Linked DNA regions of Homo sapiens: regions 2 and 3 are each linked to region 1. Evidence: promoter capture Hi-C in 16 types of primary human blood cells and fetal thymus (Javierre and others, 2016). All regions are on one chromosome and are shown on one strand. The core of a region is centred on a gene start or on the middle of the fragment in contact, and the rest is flanking DNA. Distances in the headings are between cores, read along the strand shown. Region 1 holds the start of HNRNPLL (heterogeneous nuclear ribonucleoprotein L like). Region 2 overlaps ATL2 (atlastin GTPase 2). Region 3 holds the start of ARHGEF33 (Rho guanine nucleotide exchange factor 33).

Region 1 (4,421 bases), core at 1,702-4,201:
TTCGGTTACAATGAATTACCAAACATGTGAACGAAGAAGCACAAGACAGTAAACTTCTATCCGGGGAACGTCTATCCTAATAATAGAATTTTATTATGTACAGGTTTCCATAGTTGCCATGATTTCAAAATAGTACCAAAAATTACATGAAAAATATTTAAAAACAAGATAAACAAGGCTTCATTAGATTTCATAGTACAATGATGGTTTTACTGTTAAATGAAAACAATTCACCCTTTCCTAGGAAACATATCAGCAGTAAGATAAACAAAAAAATTAAAATTTATACCTCAATCTGCTTATATCAGTTCCCGCCGGGGTAACTTAAAAGCAGCATTAGCATTACGTTAATCACTTAACTATAGCTTCGGTTAAAAAAGGCATGTGTTTCAACCTTCATATTTTACAGACTAAGAGAACTCAGAGTAGTAAACTGACTTTCTCAGACTCACACAAATTGTATGCTAAGACCAGGTGCGGTGGCTCACGGCTGTAATCCCAGCACTTTGGGAGGCCAACTCAGGTGGATCTCTTGAGCCCAGGAGTTAAGAGACTAGCTTTGGCAATATGGTGAAACCCCTTCTCTACAAAACACAGAAAAAAAAAATTGGCCCGGCGTGGTGATGCAGGCTTCCAGTCCCAGCAACCCGGGAGGCTGAGGTAGGAGGATCGCTTGAGACAGGGAGATCAAGGCTGCAGTGAGCCGTGATCACGAGCTGCTGCACTCCAGAGCTGCTGCACTCCAGCCCCGGGCCATAGAGTGAGATCCTCTCAAAAAAAAAAAAAAATTGTATGCTAAGCCTAGACTCTTGACCACCCCCAAGCCCTACTCAGTGCCATTTCCACCGCTCCACACATTTCGCTTTGGATACATTAATTATATGTTATTTTCTTCCCAACATCCAAAATAATACTATTGATTTAATGCTTTATCTGTTTTCAAAAACAAATTTTTATAATCTGATTTAAGTATCTTTCCAAAATGCCTGAAGACATTTCATGATGCTGCACAAAAACCCAAGCAAGATTTCTAGCAACGAGGTACACTGATCGAATACATCGAAATATCAGTTATAATATTCCTGTTTCCAATTTCCACAACAGAGTTGGCTTTGAACTGAAACTTCCTAAGAAAAAACCATTTCCTTTATTCACACTTCCAAGTTACATTTTGAATATTTCAAATAGCTCGGCACAAAAATCTAAAGTAATAGCTAACACCGTAACAAGACTGAGAGAAAAAGTTCCTTTTTTAAATGTGTTGCAAAGTTTGCTCTCACATCCTGGTAACTGGAAACTGCAACGCTGGGTGACTGACCAGCCTTTTTTTTTATTATTTAAAAATTCAAACGGCTATAAAGGGCTTCTAATGTGCGTCTTATTTTTAAAAGGTAAGGTAAAAACCCTTTTAACCTAATAGTAGGATATATGTGTACAGTTTCGTAATTCTGTTAAAGTTTGCAGAATTAATCACAATTCATGTGTTAAATGTTTAAATAACATCTAAGTCATTAAAACCGCTTAAGTGCACCAAAAAAGGGCAATAACGTTTGCTCCGCTTTGTTTCCTTAAAGTCTCCATCCAACTGAAGCTAACTACTTGCTGTGGACAAAATGATCACATTCCTTCTGCCTCCCCCTAACATTTCTGGTAAGAGAAAGACCTGGCTCTAGGAATGTGTGTTTAATGCAACCCTGAGCTCACTTCATCCTTTCATGGGGCAAATGTGGAATAAATTACCAATGAAAAACTTTAGTAATTTTAAGATTTGTTTTACTTGAAGGTAGGGGTGTACCAACAGCTGCCAACACTTCTGTTGAAGTGTTGTAACCGAAGAGGTAAAAAGTGTACTGAGTAATCCACAAAATTGGGTAGAGCAAAGGATGCACGCCATGCTTATAAAGAGTTTAATTTTAAAATTTTTTAAATTAAACCTTCAAGGGAACTAGCATGTGAACGCCAAGGCATAATCTGTTATTTAATTACGGGTCTCCATAGGACCGAGGCGGAGAGAGCTCCCGGTAGAACCGACGCAACCATCCCGGGATGGTGACCAACGCGCGGCTGCTGCGGGCAGAGGGACTGAAGAGAACCGGTGGTCCCGACGCTGGCCCCGAGCCCGAGGAGTTAAACTAACAAAGAGCTCCCCGAGCCGCGAAACCCCCCAGAGCGGAAGCGACGCCTCCCCGCCGCCGCCGCCGCGCCGCGACCCTCCCCAAGTTCAGGGCCCGGCAGTGGACTCGCTGCGGGGCCTGCGGCCAGGACGGCGCCGGGTTCGCAGTCGGGATGCGGGAAACAGGTAGAGGCCAGAATACGAGCCCCAAAGAGAAGAGTGGGCGCTTCCCCAAACGGGTCGGCGCAGCGGAAAAGGCTAACTGAAGCAAGCGGGAGGCCCCGCACCGAGGCCCTGCTTCCCGGGGAGCAGCCAGGCACAGCGGACAGGGGGGCCGCGCTTTGTTACCGGCTGAGAGAAGCTCCGGCCGCCGCCGCCGCCATCGCCCCCGCCCCGGGGCGTCGCTTCCCGGCGGTTCTCGCCTTCCTCGGCCGAGTAGTCGATCTCCCCCTCCTCGGTCTTGAGACGCTTGGCCTGGCTCTCGTACTCCCGGTCCTCCTCGTACGTCTCCCTGGGGGAGGAAGAGGAGGAGGACATGGCGGCGGCCGGAGGGACCGGCTGGCAGGCGGGTGGGGGTGGCGGTGGGGCGCGCGCCTCGGATGCCGCCGGCCAGTCCTCGCCGCCGGCAGCGCCTCTTCTGCGAGGGTCTCCGCGGCCCGGCCGTCCGCGGGGACTGCGCGGCCAGGAGACTGGCGGCTGAGAAGCGCGGACGGACTGAGGGGGGCGCCCCGGGAGGAAGCTCTGGAGCGGCCGCTCCTCTCAATTACCGAGCCAACATTCAGCCTCTCCCTCCTCCTCCTCCGTCTCCGCTCCCTGCCCGGAGGAGCGAATCTAAGGATGGGGACGCAACCGTGGCTTCCGGTCTTCCCTCCTCCCCTAAGCCGCTCCCAGCCGCGCAGGCCGAGCCTCCGCCCCCGCCTTCGCGGCCGTCGCGCAGGATCGAATCCAGCCGCAGCCTGCGGGAAGCGCCCCCCCCGGCCCGGGTTCTGCTCCCTATTGGCAGGGGCGGGAAAGTCGACCGGGCTTCCCATTGGCTGTGAGGGCCGTTCGTCAAAAGCCGCCCGCTGCTCGACCTCACTTCTCTCCCCGCGCCTTCTGAACTCGCCGCGGTCCTGGGAGGCCCGGCGCGCAAGGCGCGCCGCCTGGGAGTAGTTGCGACCCGCAACCGTTGGCGCTATGCGGCTCCTACCCGAGGCCAGGCGTGGAGTGAACACGGACGAGCGACGAGAAGTGCGGAGAGGCTAGGGCTGCGGGTGTTAACCGCCCTGCCGCTAATTTAAATGCTTTTTATCACCTCTTAAAAAGAGAATGAGGAAAAAAACCTCTAAAATCCCTGCAGTCATACCCCCCGAAAAGCCCTAAAATTGCAGGCGATGAAGGGAGAAAACGGCTTGGAGCCATGAGAATGGTCTTTCCACTGTTTTGTGTGCAAAATCTGGTAGAAGTGGGCGGACCCTCCCGCCCCTAGCTGGGTGTTGGAGAACAGCTGTCAGCATTGACTGAAGGCTGCGAGGCGCGCGTCGGCAGGAGGCGCTGCACGCGGGCGCTCGTCGGTCTGATCGGTTATAACTCGTTTGTAACCTGGGCCCTTTACTGACTTGCCTGTCCCTGTAAGTCCCTGCTCCAGTTAAATATGTTTTAATCCTTCCATATAAAATCTCATCCTCCATCCCAATTCTTTCTCTTCTGGACAATGTATTTACTTCACTTGATCATTTATTGTCGAAAGATACAAAAGCCTTTCAAAGTTCTGTGATCACAGCTTGCTTCCTCTGTGGTGTCCTGAGGGCTTTTCCAAGATTTTAGTTGCTGCTCTCTTTTTGCAACAGGGCCCCTTATAACTCCCTCTTAAGATGTTCTGTTTTAAAAACTCTGTGAGCGCCTGAAGACAGGAACTGTGTGCAATTTTCATTTTCGCAAGCCCAGTTCCTGTGCGATCTCCAGCACAATTTAGGTGCTCAACAATGCTGAATGAGTAGTCCTTGGGAAATAAAGGTCCAGTGTATCTTTCAGGACAGAAACTGGCAAATCAAGGCAACCTAACTGCCCTCTGTCAGGTGCCTCTTGGAGGACTGCCTGAGATCAAGAGCCTCTTGTGTTTCTGTTGTCCTTGTCCCTCGGATGCTTTCCTAGATGTGGCTCTTCCTTTCCTAAGAGTGTAGATTGCTTCCTCCTCCAGCCTAGTTCTCTCCAAAGTTATTTCCTCCTCCAAAAAAGCTATTTTTATTTATTGCTGAGAGTGCTTTAACATAACACTTTTGTACTTTGTAAATTACACCGGCTGTCATTTTGGAATCTAATTGCAAGA
Region 2 (4,981 bases), core at 1,585-4,084, 280 kb before region 1:
AAAAAAAATTAGCCAGGCGTGGCGGCACATGCCTGTAATCCCAGCTACTTGGGAGGCTGAGGGAGGAGAATCGCTTGAACCCGGGTTTCAGGTGGGTTGTGGGAGGTGGAGGTTGCAGTGAGCTGAGATCGCACCACTGCGCTCCAGCCTGGGCAACAGAGAGAGACTGTCTCAAACAAAACAAAACAAAACAAAAAGACAGTATCATTCAGACCATCACCTAACATAGCCTTAAACTTCAAACCATCTTTAATTATTATTATTATTCCACAAAACTCCCATCCCCAGTAGGCCACCAATCCTATCAATTACAAACTTCTCTTGGATTCATTTCTTTTTCTTCAGTTTTCAATACCTACAACTTAAAGACCTCATCTATGCTGGTCAGAAGGGGCTGCCACCTGAGACAATTCCATTCACAGTATATATGATGGACTTGTGTTTCAGGAGGCACCCTTCACAGGAATCAGAAGATTATTTTGACACTCCCCGGACAAGTAAAACTGGTGATCCTGCCCCTTGACTACATATTTGGATACTTCATATTGGTCTCTATGCAACTCCTGCTCTATCCTCTAACCCATTTTTCCATAGTCACTGAATGTTCACAAGAAATGTAATCGTGCCACTGTCCTGCTGAAAAGTCATCTGTGGCTCCGCACTACCAATAAGACCATCTGGAGATCTGCTGCATAACAATCCTTTTTTCTCTTTTTCTTTTTTTTCTTTTTTTGAGACAGGGTCTCACTCTGTCACCCAGGCTGGAGAGCAGTGGCACAATCAGAACTCAATGAAGCCTCATCCTCCCGGACTCAAAGGATCCTCCTACCTCAGCCTCCTAAGTAGCTGGGACTGCAGGTGCACACCACCACACCTGGCTGATTTTGGTATTTTTTGTAGAGAGGGGGTTTCGCCACGTTGCCCAGGCTGATAACAATCCATCTTTAATTTACTCTTCTTGTCTGTGCTCCTGATACTCCCCATAGATCTCAACACACATCTTCCTGATTCTACCATACCAAAAAAAGTTACCATTTATAAGGAGTTACCTTTATATGGTTTTGCAGTTTTTTTGTGAGTCTCTTGAGAGCAAAGGCTACAAACAATCATCTTTGTTCACCAAACTGCTCCTATCAAAGTGCCTTGCACTGTTGTAAGTTCTGACATGGAGAATCTCATTCCCCCACAATGTCAAAAAAAAAAAAATCTGGTACTTAATGAATTTATTATTTGTAAAAGTTACAGGCTACACAAATAATTCCTCTAAGAGAACTCTGGTTTTACTCTACATTTTACTTATTTCTATCTCCTCTACAAGAAGGTAAGTTTCACAAAAGTTTTGTTTGTTTCATTCTTACAAGTATTCCCATCACAGAGAAGTGTGCCTGGCTTGTAGTTGGTACTCTAAGTATTTCTTAAACAAACAAAAAAGTTTACTTATAAGCTTCAATGTACTCCCTTTTGAGCATGGGTAATAAATCCAGAAGAAATATGATCTTTGTTATTATTCCTAGAAACAATACAATCATAAAAAGACAGTAAAAATAAATTTTTATAAGTATAGATGACTGAAATCATAGGCTTATATGTTTGCCAGCCCCCTCTTCCAAAGAAACTTTAAAAAGAATTGGTGTCTCATAAAAATCTACTATGTATCATCTCTTCCTAGGTTACCTTGTAATGGAAATGTTTAAAAAAAAATACTAAACTGATTAGTCAGCAAAAGGATGAAAGAAGCTGAGTGTGGTGGCTACACCTGTAATCCCAGCACTTTGGGAGGCCAAGGCAGGAGGATCACTTGAGCCCAAAAGTTCAAGGCTGCAGTGAGCTATGATGATGCCACCACACTCCAGCCTGGATGACAGAGTGAGAGACCCTGCCTCTATTTAACAACAACAACAAAGATGAAAAAATAAATCAGAGAACTAATCAGATTCTTTAAAACGTGTAAAAGTGTATAATTTCTCTAACATAGTGAACACTGACAGCTTTCATAAAATACAGTCATTCATTCATTAAATATTTGTGGAACCTCTACCATGTGCCAGCCATTTTTCTAGGGATACAGCAGTGAACAAGAATAAACATTCCTGCCCACAAAGAGAATTTTAGTGGGAGCTAAAGGCAGCCTTGCTGATAACAGACCCTATTTGCTGTGATAATTTACTAAAAGCAAACCTAAAAACTCAAAAACACTAATCTGATACTATTTACTACTATGGAGACAAAAGCCTCAAAACTCAGAAATGCAAAAGTAATCCTATTCCACCAGACATATAAAGTAAATAGGAAAAAAAGAAGTATTTATAGAATAAAACTCAACTGCAAAAGGCAATCTGAAATCACCAGAAGTTTTTTTTTTTTTTTTTTTTTTTTTTGAGATGGGGTCTCACTTGCTATGTTGCCCAGGCCGGTCTTGAACTCTTGAGCTCAAGCAATCCTCCCACCTCAGCACCTCAGCCTCTCAAAGTGCTGGGATTACAAGCATGAGCCACCATGCCCAGCCTGAAGTTTAAGTATAATCAAATAGTGAATAAATACAGCCCTTGCCAAAAAGACGTTCTACATAATATAATTATCAGCAATTAAGAAACCTTACCTATTCTAAACAGTAAGAAACAAATTCATATTTTACCAAAGGAAAGGTATACTCCCTAGCAACAAAGTGAAACAACTATGTAACCATTTATTTAGTTAGTTAGACAGAGAGAAAGAAAACGAGACAGACAGACACAGACAGGGTCTTGCTCTATCACCCAAGCTGGAGAGCAATGGCACGATCATAGCTCACTGTCCTCGACATCCTGGGCTCAAGTGATCAAAGGGTTGGTTGTCCTGCCAGGCCTACATGTATCAGAGCACACCCGCTCCTGACTGCTGGCAAGCTGACTCCCTTTCACAATGGATAGGCTGGAAGAATAAAGGTTCATACAAAAGCCATAAATCATCACAACTGGGAGTAAAAGGAATAAAAAGAATGAAATTAAGATCCAAGTGGGCCGGTAAGGTGGCTCACGCCTGTAATCCCAGCACTTTGGGAAGCCGAGGCGGGCGGATCACCTGAGGCTGGGAGTTTGAGACCAGCCTGACCAACATGGAGATACCCAGTCTCTACTAAAAATACAAAAAAATTAGCCAAGCATGGTGGTGCATGCCTGTAATCTCAGCTACTCGGGAGGCTGAGGCAGGAAAATCGCTTGAACCCGGGAGGCGGAGGATGCGATGAGCCAAGATCGCGCCATTGCACTCCAGCCTGGGCAACAAAAGCGAAACTCAGTCTCAAAAAAAACAATCCAAGTAGTGCTACAATAATAAGCGAGATCCTCCCTAGTTGCATGACATTCCCCACACCACCACAAATGAAAATCTTCATGTGTATAAAACTAGTACCTAATCAGGAGACAGGTTATGAACACTCAGCACCCAAAGTGATGGACACAATAAATACTGTACACATTCTAACCACCAATTGTATTTACTGTTTTCATTTGAATATGTGAGAATACTCTGCAAGTCCTGGAACAAATTATAAAACATTTAACTTTAAAACAGTTTAAAACTGTCTAACATCTTATCCAACCCCATTCCCACCCCATGCCCAACTCTTCCCATCTGGGGCTGGACAAATCAATGAAATTATGACTGACCCAAGTCATGAGCCCAGAAAAAGGACAACTCTAACTACTTAGGTACATGCTGAAGAGGAATTTAACATATTTTGATAAAAGGTTCTGCTCAAAAGGTGTCTTTGACCTTGAAGACACTATGCTAAATGAAATAGGCCACACACAAAAGGACAAATATTCTATGATTCTACTCATATGAGGTGCTTAGTCAAATTCATAGGGACAGAAAGTAGAATGGTGGATGCCAGGGGATTGGGGAGAGAAATGGGGAGTTAGTGTTTAATGGGCACAGAGCTTCAGCTGGGGAAGATGAAGCAGTTCTGGAGATGGATAGTGGCAATGGCTACACAACAATGTGAACAGACTTAGTGCCACTGAAGTGTACACTTACAAATGGTTAAAGAGGTAAATTTTATGTTATGTATATCTTACCACAATTTTAAAAAAAGTTGCCCTTGAGGGCTAACAAAACGGAAGGGGCAGACACGTCTTGTAATTAAACTGAGATTTGACTTTAGAGTCTTCCATTGGACTTCCAGTGTCAGCTTTCTCATGTAAAAAGTTTAGAAGTCATCAGACCTATCTTTACAACAAGAGAAAAGCTTAGCAAACTGAAAAATCAATAAACTCTCCTTTCTTAGATCAAAGAATTGAGATCACAGGTCAAACCATCCCTGCAAAATCACAAGAGACAAACTAACACAAAGGATCAGGAGTTGAGGTCAGCTTACCAGCAACTGCTGCAGCAACTGGTAGGAACACTTAAATGGCAATTTCAATGAATTGTCAGAAGCTGAGAGTGAACTAGTTTAAGCACTAAAAACCCTAGAGGCTCAGTCTAAGAAAACACCCCACTTTCCTGAATATTATCTCAAAGAACTCCACAAAATTCTCAAAGTAATTACGGAAGAAAGTTTCCCTCATGACTGACAAGGGGAGGGGAAGTAACACTTTTTAAGTTCACCCTGGGAAAGTAACCACTATCTACACACACACCAGTACATACACACACACACACACACACACACACACACCAGTACACACACACACACACACACACACACACACACACCAGTACACACACACACACACACACACACACACACACACACACACACACACACACACACACACACACCAGTCCCCACAACAAAAGCCTGCCCTCCTGAGAAAACTACTTTACCAGAGCTTTATCTGACCCTAGGGAGGAGCAATTAAATTAGCCAACTCCAGCCCCATCTAGGCTTCCTGTCTAGTTTAAGGTTTTGTTTGTTTGTTTGTTTAAAAAAAAAAAAAAAAAAAAAAAAAGAGGGTCATAGACCAGGACTCAGGCCCACTAAAAAACTAAGGAGCCA
Region 3 (4,921 bases), core at 682-3,181, 290 kb after region 1:
ACAAAAACCTAATCTCTACTGTGGTAGTATTAAGAGTTGAGGCCTTTAGGAGGTGATTAGGTTATAAGGACAGAGCCCTCATGGATGGGATTAGTGCCCTTATAAAAGAGATGTGAAGGAGATTGCTTGCTTCTTCTGTCACAAGAGAATGATGCAAGAAGGTGCCATCTTTGAAGAAGAGAGCAAGTCCTTACCAGACACTAAATCTGCTAGTGCCTTGATCTTGGACTTAACAGCCTCCAGAACTGTGAGCAATACATTTCTGTTGTTTAAAATTACCCTGTCTAAGGTATTTTCTTATAGCAGTTCAAATGGACTAAGACATGTATAATAGCCCCAACTGGAAACAATCCAAATGTCCATCAACTAATGAATGTGTAAACAAAATGTCCACATAATGGAATATTATTCAGCCATAAAAAATGAAGTACTGATACTACAACATGGATGAACTTCAGAAACATTGTACTGGCCAGGCAGGTGGCTCATCCTGTAATCCCAGCACTTTGGGATGCCAAGGTGTGTGGATCGCTTGCCAGGAGTTTGAGACCAGGCTGGGCAGCATGGCAAAATCCCATCTCTACAAAAAATACAAAAATTAGCCAGGTGTGGTGGCACATGCCTATAGTCCCAGCTACTTGGGAGGACTGCTTGAGCCCAGGAGGCAGAGGTTGCAGTGAACCAAGATCATGCCACTGCACTCCAGGATGGGTGACAGAGCAAAACTTCATCTCAAAAACAACAAACAAACAAACATTGTACTAAGTGAAAGGAACCAGTCACAAACGGCCACATATTATATGATTCCATTTATGTGAAATGCTCTGAATAGGCAAATCCTTAGGGACAGAAAATAGATTAGTGGTTGCCAGGGGAGGAAGAAATTGGGAGGCATGAGGTTTCTAGAATTAGACAGTGGTGATGGTTGCACAGTCTTGAAAATGTACTAAAAACCACTGAATTGTTCATTTAACAGGGACAAATTTTATGTATGATGTGTAAATTATGTCTCAATTTCTTAAAAAGTAGATCTGTGTGTTGTCATATATTCTATGTCCAGAAAACTTCTTTACTTTTTACATAAGATAATTTAAAAATTACCAGAGCAGTATATGTCAACTACATTTAAAAAATTACAATAAAGACCTGAATGTTTTTGCTGAAACTCTATATTCTAAAACTGACAAAAAATAGTGTACACAATAGATAACTTCTTTGTCATATTTCTCTATTCAAAATCTTGTGAATATTTGTATTTCTCAATATGTTATTGCCAAAAGATGTATATTTTTATTTTTTGCTGTACTGGCACAAATTTGGGTTACAATGTCTTCTAAAATGTTAAAATAAAAATGGCATTTTTGTTAGTTTCTCATAATAATAGCTTTATGGCTAATTTTGAAAGACCCTATTTGTAAGTTTTCAAAGACACATTTTAAGAATTGGACATTTTTGTATATGTTGCTAAACATTAGCTGGCATGGCTTTAGAATTAAATATTATTATTATATGGAAATTCATGAAGAGACAAATACTGGACAAGTTAAGATAAGGTGAGAAGATGTTTTCAGGGACCAGGACATATAATTTAAATTCAAAAACTTCTGGAAAATATAGAAAAGTATCTGCTTTGCTGCAAAATAAATTTTCCCTAATTTTTTTCAATTTATTTAAGGCAGCAAGATATATATTTTACTCTTAAAATATTTAACTTGTATTGCTATGTTAATAACTTTTCAAAGTACAACTTTTCAATTTTCTAGTATACCAAAGATATTCCTCCTAAATGGGTTTCTTCCTTTTTACTCATTGAAACTAAATGCAGTTCAGTTATTTGATTAGTTGATGCTAGAATTTGACCTGGAGCTTATATAATTAGAAGAGACACTAGTTTTCCTCATTTAAAAGCCTGGTTAGCATACTACGGTCTCGTTTCAGGGGAAGTCAAGCCTCTCTACTGCTTCTTTTTATAACCTTTAAGTTAATTCAGAACCCAGATAAGCCTTGATCTGAGGATGATATAACCACCGCAGGCAACATGGGGTAAGTATGCGCTTTTATATGCTTTAAGGGGCACTGAAAGGGGAAACAATTTTATAAGAGATGAAAACCCATCAATCCTTACCACGTGGTGTACTAATTTAAATCCAATATATGCTAACATTTATTTGAGGTAGGCATTCAAAGAAATAACTTTTATTTAAGAGTTATAACAATTTGTAAAACATTTATTTCCTTGCTTAATTTTTATATTATGTCTTAACTGCGCTTTGCAGGTTATCGATAAACTGGAGACTGAAGTTGTTCTGCATATTAATAAATATAGTTGAAGATGAGTTAAATTTTGAGAGCAGTCTTAAAGAAAGGATGCTAGACAGCGTAAATCTGACATGGACATGCCTCTTTGGGATTAAGAATAATTAAAGAATGAAAAAGATTAGGGATGGAGGGAGATTGGTTTATTCCTTTCTAACACAGAAAAAGAATAGGGGAATCTTCAGCATTCACTCCCCTATGTACAGAACAAAAAACATATCCTGATTGAAAATGTGTACTGATTAATTACATGGGGGCTTTATTGGTGAAACCTAATTCTAAACACTTCATGGGGCTTTGGTGTGTAATGAGAAGAACTGAGTTTCACTTAAACATTGTCTTAAGTGAGAATAGCGTTCTATTATAATTAGTATTGGAATTATGTGAGTTTTTATATGCTGAAATAGTATTCTGAATATGTAGAAATCTCTATATCACCCTTTTATATTTTTAATAGCCCCTTTTAATACAAAATCATATTGCTGTAAATGGAATAGCTATTTCATTGAAGGCTACTTCTGAAGGATTCAACATAATGATCAGAAATGTATCCTAGAGAAAAAAGTTTTTGATGCACATTTATTCTAAACATTTTTCACAAACTGAATTAATTAATGTCTACATTTTTCATAACCATGGGCTCTGGAAATGCAATCTAAACTCATTTGAAAACTCAGAGGCTTTTGAAACAAGATGACCATACTATTGGTTTTTTTTTTTTTCTTTTTTCTTTTCTTTTTTTAGACAAGGTCTCACTTTGTCACCTGGGCTCAAGCAATCCTCCCACCTCAGCCCCCACAGGTAACTGAGACCACAGGTGCACACCACCACACCCGGCTAATTTTTGTATTTTTTGTAGAGATGGGGTTTCGTCATGTTGCTCAGGTTGGTCTTGAACTCCTGATCTCAAGCAGTCCTCCCACTTCAGCCTCCCAAAGTGCTGGGATTACAGGTGTGAGCCACCATGCTCGGCCTTATTGTTAACTTTTTCTTAATTCCCTTTATTTACCTTCCCTTTTCTCTGTGTATAAGGGTGTACTTCAACATAGCAGGCCAGTAATAAACTAAGTAATGTAGATACAAAGATCAACTGATCTTCCTCCTTCCCTTCCTCTCTCCTTTCCTCCCTTCCTCTCTCCCTCTTCCTTCCTTTCTTTTTCTTTAATGACAGCAGTTCTTAACCTTTTCGGTGTCAAGAATTGCTTTTAGAATCTTCAGAAACCAGTCCACCATTTCTGCAAAAAAAAAAGTAAAATCACACAAAATTTTGCATACAATTTCAGAAGATTTACAGGTGACCTGAAACCCTATTCCTGGGACCACAGGTTAAGACCCTTAGACTTTGATTTTAGGACTGGAGTATGATTTGTTCAATATTTCTCTTTGTTTGGATTTTTATAAATGTAAGAATCTTTAAATTCATAATTCTTGCTAATCTTCTCAAGGACAGTGTGGAAGATTCCCCACCCGCCCCCCACACAATTTACATGAGTGTGAAACACAGTTTAACCAACATGCATCACATTACTGCTGCTGGGCCCCAAGGACTTGACTAATCACTTGTGCCTTTTGAGAGTGCCAGGAATCACCTTGGGAGTCATGGAAGGAAAAAAAACCCTCATTATGTTATTTGTAAAGCACTTTGAATGCCCCAAATAAGATGAACGAAACAAATCATAAATGCTAATATTACAGAGAGCACTCTTCTGATTGGTATGTTCATGATTATTTTGTTGTCTGTTCATGCCTTTACTGACAAAAAGACAGGGTAGTAAGTATTAACATCTGTTTGAGTCTTCCTAAAATAATCAGAAAAATAAAGAAAAAGTGGCAGCTAATCGGATTCTCAAATTTATCCATTTGAGGAAATCTCTAGAATTTATTTCCTGAGAATGAGGGAGTAGCTGTTTTGGATTTGTCTTTGGGGCCTACTTATCTCAAATGATTTGAGGATATAATTCCCTTATATGGGGCAATGCCAGCCCTTTCCACCTTTCCCCAGGCTATGCTGGCATGGTTTTAGCAAGCAATGAAGAAGCAAATACTGGAAAATTCTTATGCTCTCTAAAAAAATCTCCTCCTCGTAATTTTCACTGGGTTTTTTATGGAGTGTGTGAGTAGGTGGGGTGGGTAGAGATGATGCCTAAAGGTGGGTAAACAGATAACTGGGGAAAAGTAGAAAAACCTAACTGACATCTGCTAAGTACCATAACACCCGGGCAAAGGATGAACAATGGGAAAGAAAGGATGGTTGTATTTCTTTTTTGAGACATTTTAAAATGTGCTTTCCCCATCTCCTAGCAGAGTTAGTCAGTGCACCCCCAATTGACAAAAACAAAAGTTAAGGCTCTGCTAAAATTGTAGAACCAAGTTCATTATTATAGCATATTCAGCCTCCTTTTAGTCTCCTGGTTCAAATAAGTTAGAGTAATTTTAAAAATTATCTTATGACATATTTCCTCCTTCTGAATCTGAGAGTGACTATCCAACTCTTTTTCTTGGGTGAAGCATACATTTGGCTCATGGAGCAACCTTTGAAATGTCGCTTCTATCTGTGCCCTCCTTTCCTTTCTAAGAGTCACTTCCCTAATTCAGGTCATCATTA

The links. The method cuts DNA at HindIII sites, captures the fragments that hold promoters and counts their contacts. A CHiCAGO score of 5 or more calls a contact.
Region 2: a contact is called between a fragment that was not itself captured here and the fragment with the promoter of HNRNPLL in region 1, in 1 of 17 cell types (erythroblasts). The highest score is 5.1, in erythroblasts.
Region 3: a contact is called between the fragment with the promoter of ARHGEF33 here and the fragment with the promoter of HNRNPLL in region 1, in 10 of 17 cell types (total B cells, naive B cells, naive CD8 T cells and 7 more). The highest score is 14.4, in total B cells.

What each region holds. Positions count from the first base shown.
Region 1 is chr2:38,599,977-38,604,397 of GRCh38, forward strand. HNRNPLL (heterogeneous nuclear ribonucleoprotein L like) reads right to left here and starts at 2,952. Exons shown (of 13, transcript NM_138394.4): 1 at 2,462-2,952. The coding sequence starts at 2,650. RefSeq lists silencers at 2,672-2,771, 2,792-2,841, 3,062-3,131. The HindIII fragment of the contact is 8,602 bases long and covers 1-4,421 here.
Region 2 is chr2:38,320,998-38,325,978 of GRCh38, forward strand. All of the region lies in intron 2 of ATL2 (atlastin GTPase 2), which reads right to left. Among named protein-coding and RNA genes, the nearest start is that of ATL2, 54 kb to the right of the region's middle. The HindIII fragment of the contact is 2,784 bases long and covers 1,443-4,226 here.
Region 3 is chr2:38,887,944-38,892,864 of GRCh38, forward strand. It overlaps ARHGEF33 (Rho guanine nucleotide exchange factor 33), which reads left to right and starts at 1,932. Exons shown (of 18, transcript NM_001145451.5): 1 at 1,932-2,043. The HindIII fragment of the contact is 7,511 bases long and covers 1-4,921 here.